2 separate regions of the Homo sapiens genome follow, and region 2 is linked to region 1. The links are contacts of gene promoters, found by promoter capture Hi-C in human tissues and cell types (Jung and others, 2019). All regions are on one chromosome and are shown on one strand. The core of a region is centred on a gene start or on the middle of the fragment in contact, and the rest is flanking DNA. Distances in the headings are between cores, read along the strand shown.

Region 1 (2,700 bases), core at 62-2,561:
GAGATATCCTGCAGTAAAGGAACCTTTTCAACTTTGTTTAATTCAGTGTTTCCCAAGCTTATTTAACTATAGAACCTTTTTTCATGTTACATCTGTTAACATCTTACAGAACCAATGTGTTTCATGGGAAATACTCTTTGGAAAACTTTAGCTTAGAAATTAGTATCTGTGCTGATCCAGTCTAGATTTATAGTCTTCCTAGTTCTTTTAAATGTCTTTTATAACCCACACCATTTTGCCCTATGCTAGTTAGTGTCTAATGGGATGTTGCTGATTTGTTTCAGGGTCTGAACTTGCTATTAGTAGGAAGCTCTTGGTGAACTTTGGTTAGGTGCACAGGCAAATACCAAGTGCCTTGTTTTTCTCATAATATTTCTAAGGGAGTTTTATTTCCCTTATGTCCCTCTACCAAATGCTGGTTTGATCCTTATTTTTTTTGGACAACTTTATTGAGATATAATTTATATATTGTATACACTAGCCATTTAGTACTTTACTGTTTTTTGAGACACAGTTTCACTCTGTCTCCTACAGCCTTGACCTTCCCCAGCTCAGGTGATCCTCCCACCTCAGCCTCCCAAGTAACTAGGACTACAGGTGTGCACCACCATGCCCAGCTAATTTTTGTTTTTTTCTGGTAGAGATGGGGTTTCGCCATGTTGCCCAGGTTGGTCTCAAATTCCTGGGCTCAAGAGATCCACCTGCCATGTCCTCCCAAAGTGCTAAGATTACAGGTGTGAGCCACTGCACCCAGCTAGTACTTTACTTTTAAACCAGTGTGGCTATCCCATGGCTGAGGTTTTTTTTTTTTTTCCGATAGTTTTTGGGGAACAGGTGGTTTTTGGTTATGTGGATAAGTTCTTTGGTAGTAATTTCTGAGATTTTGGTGCACCTGTCACCCAAACAGTGTACAATGTACCCAACATGTAGTCTTTTATCCCTCATCCTTCTCCCACCCTTCCCCTGTGAGTCCCCAGAGTCCATTATATCATTCTTATGCCTTTGTGTCCTCATAGCTTAGCTCCCACCATGGCCTAGTTCTATTTCTCATTTTTACCTTGGGCTGTGCTCTATGCTTTTATGTTCTGCCAAGCAGTAGAGAAGATAAAGATAATCCAAATCTTTTATCAGGAAGAATCCCATCTCAATTGAGATTTAAGGTGAAAAGTGGATTCCCCGATTAGGGGATGTTTCAGTACTTCCTCTGCAGTATCAATAAATGTTCTCACTGTTCACAACAGCTCAAGAAACATTCCTGCATAATTATTTTATACCCTCCTACTCCACAGGCTACATAAAGCATGGATGATAAACAGGCATTACCCTTCATGCCAATGCCCCTTGATCAGTAGTTGCTGCCTGGAGCATTGTGTTAAGATGGATGCTAAGGTGGACTCCTGGTTCCATATGAAAGACTGACATGGTTTGGTTGATTTTCCATGTCTGCTATGGTCTTCAGCAGGGGGAACAACAGTTCTAGTATTCTGGTTGCCATCCCAGCGGCCCTGAATCATCATAGTTATCTTGGGCAAAGAACACAGGAAAGGGGAACTCTTGGGGATGTTAGCCAGCCAAGCAATCTGTTTCACTGAGGGGCTAAAGTCTTATCATATGGCTCCTTAAGAAATGAATAAAGGGGCCAGGTGCAGTGGCTCATGCCTGTAATCCCAGTGCTTAGAGAGGCCAAGGCGGGAGGATTGCTTAAGGCCATCAATTCGAGACCAGCCTGGGCAACATAGTGAGACCCTGTCTCTACAAAAAATTAAAAAGTAGCCAGGCATGATGATGCATGCCTGTAGTCCTAGCCATTAGGGAGGCTGAGGTGGGAGGATGGCTTGAGCCCGGGAGTTCGAGGCTGCAATGAGCTATAATTGCACTATTACACTCTAGCCTAGGCAACAAAGCAAGACCCTGTCTTAAAAAAAAAAAAATGAAGAAAACTGTTTTTTTCTACTTGATCTTCAGCACTGGTTTCTGAAGTATTGAATTAATATAAAGTTTAAAATCCTTTTGAAATAAATAGGCCAGGTGAGAGGGAGTAACCTGGACTCTGCTGAGCAGATAAGAGGGGGAAAGAAGCAGATTCAGGAAAAGATCTCATGAATTTCATATGAGTGGTTGGCCACACTTAATATGAAATTATAAGCCCTTGACCAAAGAAGCAAGAAGGAATAGGCTACAAGAAGAGACCCATAAGCCAGAAGTCACTGGCGAGGAAAGGCCCTATTATAGGTTATACAGCCTTAGCGCTCTTTTGTTTACCCAGGCTAAATAGGCCTGCTTTTTCCTTTTACCATTTCCCGGGACACTGGCTTCCAAATTCGCAGTCATCCTAGCTGCCCTAGTGGATACTTTTAGGTTTCTCACCCCTGAAACTGAACACAGAGCTGTACATGTGATCTGCACAGCACAGATTATTGTGGGACTGCCACTACCCATAATATTGATATTGTACTTCTATTATTGTCAGTTGAGCTTCCATGATCATATTTAATAACCATACCTATTGTTATATTGAACTCAGAACATATCTGGAACAGAGCAGCCCTTTCCCTTAGCAGTGTAAAATCAAGGCAAGAACCTGGAATCACATCTTGAGCTAGGCTTACTGCCAATACAGGTTAAGAGTCCACTGAGGATAGTGAGATGATGGTTCCACATTTGTTAGAAACTACACTACATGTGTGTCATGTGACTCTT
Region 2 (2,700 bases), core at 36-2,535, 210 kb before region 1:
GCAGATTGAGATCCCTGGACCAGGAGTGGGAAATTCTTAAAGGAGCCAGGGGCACTGAACTTGGCAGCATACCCCCACCCTAGGCAGCTCCCAGCTTCCTGGAAAGGACTGGATAAAGATGAATAGGAGCTTTGCATTGCAGGGAGGGGGTAAAGAACGGAGTGACAGCTGGGTATGGGATTAGGAGAGAAGCGGCTATAGCTGGAGGGTGGGATGCAGGGGGTATAGCAGTTGGACATGAGGGTGTGACTGAACCCGGGTAGGGAGAGGGGATGTTCCTCCAGGCCCAGGAAGGAGGCTGGAATTTGAGTAAAACAAAGATGTAATTGAGTGCTTGAGTCCAATGTCTTCAACAAGTCAGGGACTGGATCTGGAGACCCTAGGCCCCTGCTGGCAAGAGGTTGGCATTCCTGGAACAGGACTAGACAAAAACAGGAAGGTAAGATTCACTGGGCCTTTTACCTGTTTTGACAACAGTAACCTAGCACCAAAGAGCTTTTATCTTCCCTCCTTATCTACCCCACCTTTCCTCCCTGTCTCATCATCCTGGGGAAAGCTGCCCCACCTCAGCATCTCCAAAACACCCTTAATATTACCATAAAGGGCCTTCCCCCAGCTTCTCTGAATGGGGCTGGCCTCAGCCAAGAACCCTCCTCAGCCAGAAGGGCCTGCTCTAGGGACCCATTCCCATCCATTTCTTCTGATAAGACAGGCAGGCCAAGCCAGGAAGTGGGGAGGAGAAGGTGAAGGCAAGTTGGTGCTTGCCTGCCCTCTGCTCCCACCCCACCCACAACTCCCCTGTCAGAATCTGTGTGTGCTAGTGTGAATTTGCTTGTGATTGGATGACTGTGAAAACACAATTGGGTGGGAGAGGGACTTTGAGTATAACCGGGGCTATATAATTTTGTCTACGGTTGTCTGATCATGAGTATGACTTTGTGAGGTTGACCAAGTGATTGAGGAGTGACTTTGAATGTGTGGCTATGCGTATTTGAGTGTGAATGTCTATCATTAGATGCTGCTGTGGATGCTTGACTGCCCTTACTCACTGTTCCATCAGTCCCTACATCACACACTAATCCTTCCCCCAGCTTCACTGCCCAGAGCTTAGGAGCACATGGGAAATGGCTATCCTAGATGAGGAAGGAGTCTGTGGCAACAGGCCGAGAATTAGGGCCCAGGAGTGTCACAGGTTACACAGTACATCTCCAACTGCCTCTGACTCACCTAGTGCCCCAGGTAAAAGGCACCCAGATAAAAGGTAGGGGAGGAGGAGAGAGAGAGAAGGAAGAGTCTAGGCTGAGCAACATGAAGGGGCCCCCAACCTTCTGCAGCCTCCTGCTGCTGTCATTGCTCCTGAGCCCAGACCCTACAGCAGGTGAGTACTTGGGGGTATAGAAAGCTGGGGGTCTGGGTGAATGGGATGAAGTTGAAAAGACCCAGGAAATCCAACCTAACCTCCAGCTGTCTGGCAGAGAGGTTCTTGGTCAGGATCCCTCTGAACACATGGCCCTGTTGCCCCTAGCATTCCTACTGCCACCCAGCACTGCCTGCTGTACTCAGCTCTACCGAAAGCCACTCTCAGACAAGCTACTGAGGAAGGTCATCCAGGTGGAACTGCAGGAGGCTGACGGGGACTGTCACCTCCAGGCTTTCGTGTGAGCTCCCACCCCTGATACCCCTGACTCTGACCTCAGTCCCAACCCCTAATGCTGATCCCAACCCCAGCCCTAACTGCTAATTCTGTTGCCAACTCAGGTTTTCATCTGGTCCTTGCTCCTAACCCCTAATTAGGGTCATTGGGGATGACCCTAATCTCATCCCCAAGCTATGGTCATAGCTTTGGACCTTTCTCTACCCAGGCTTCACCTGGCTCAACGCAGCATCTGCATCCACCCCCAGAACCCCAGCCTGTCACAGTGGTTTGAGCACCAAGAGAGAAAGCTCCATGGGACTCTGCCCAAGCTGAATTTTGGGATGCTAAGGAAAATGGGCTGAAGCCCCCAATAGCCAAATAATAAAGCAGCATTGGATAATAATTTCTGAGTATAATCTCCAAGAACTTCCTTATTCTCTTTATTCACACCTGCACAACCCCTGCAAGGGGAAAGGCCAAGAGCCAAGGACCCACACACACTCCCCAGGCACCTACATACATGCATGCAGAGAATACATGTTCCCTGCCTCACAGACACATGGTCACACATGGACACAGATGTACACATTACACACGTTCCTTGAGCAGAACTCCAACTCTGGGGTGAAATCAGAGGTACAAGCACCTTTCAGCTGCAAATTTGAAATACAGGGTCTCACAGAAATGGGCTCCAAACAGAACTTCCAGCTGAGATCCAACCATAGGGATCTACTGTCCTGCCTGGTTTCTATCCACACCAGCAAGACAGAATTATAGGTGGAATCTGCCGAAGCCCTCCTGGGTCCTCTACAGGTTTGGAGCTCCTAGAAGAAGCAGGAGGCAAATCAGGAGAGACAGTAAGACCGGATCTTGGCCCAGACACCCTGAGAATGAGGGAGGTGACTCAGTTCTAAGCTTAACACTCTGAAGATGAGTAGAGGAGCCCAGCTCTGAGGGAGCCTCTTCAACACACTGAAGATACGGGAGTGGACCTAGCTCTGGGCCCAGGCACATTAAGAATGAAGGAGGGGACCTAGCACTGATCCAAGACACCTTGAAAAAAA

The links. Contacts are between HindIII fragments. The study calls those that stand out against the background at their distance.
Region 2: a contact is called between the fragment with the promoter of CCL27 here and a fragment that was not itself captured in region 1, in 3 of the 25 tissues and cell types used here (H1 embryonic stem cells, pancreas and spleen).

What each region holds. Positions count from the first base shown.
Region 1 is chr9:34,447,108-34,449,807 of GRCh38, reverse strand. The region is part of intron 1 of FAM219A (family with sequence similarity 219 member A); the gene reads left to right. Among named protein-coding and RNA genes, the nearest start is that of FAM219A, 10 kb to the left of the region's middle. The HindIII fragment of the contact is 5,527 bases long and covers 1-2,700 here.
Region 2 is chr9:34,661,242-34,663,941 of GRCh38, reverse strand. It overlaps CCL27 (C-C motif chemokine ligand 27), which reads left to right and starts at 1,285. Exons shown (of 3, transcript NM_006664.4): 1 at 1,285-1,378; 2 at 1,526-1,658; 3 at 1,863-2,052. The coding sequence starts at 1,309. The coding sequence ends at 1,998. IL11RA (interleukin 11 receptor subunit alpha) reads right to left here. Exons shown (of 13, transcript NM_001142784.3): 13 at 2,040-2,460. The coding sequence ends at 2,444. The HindIII fragment of the contact is 14,352 bases long and covers 1-2,700 here.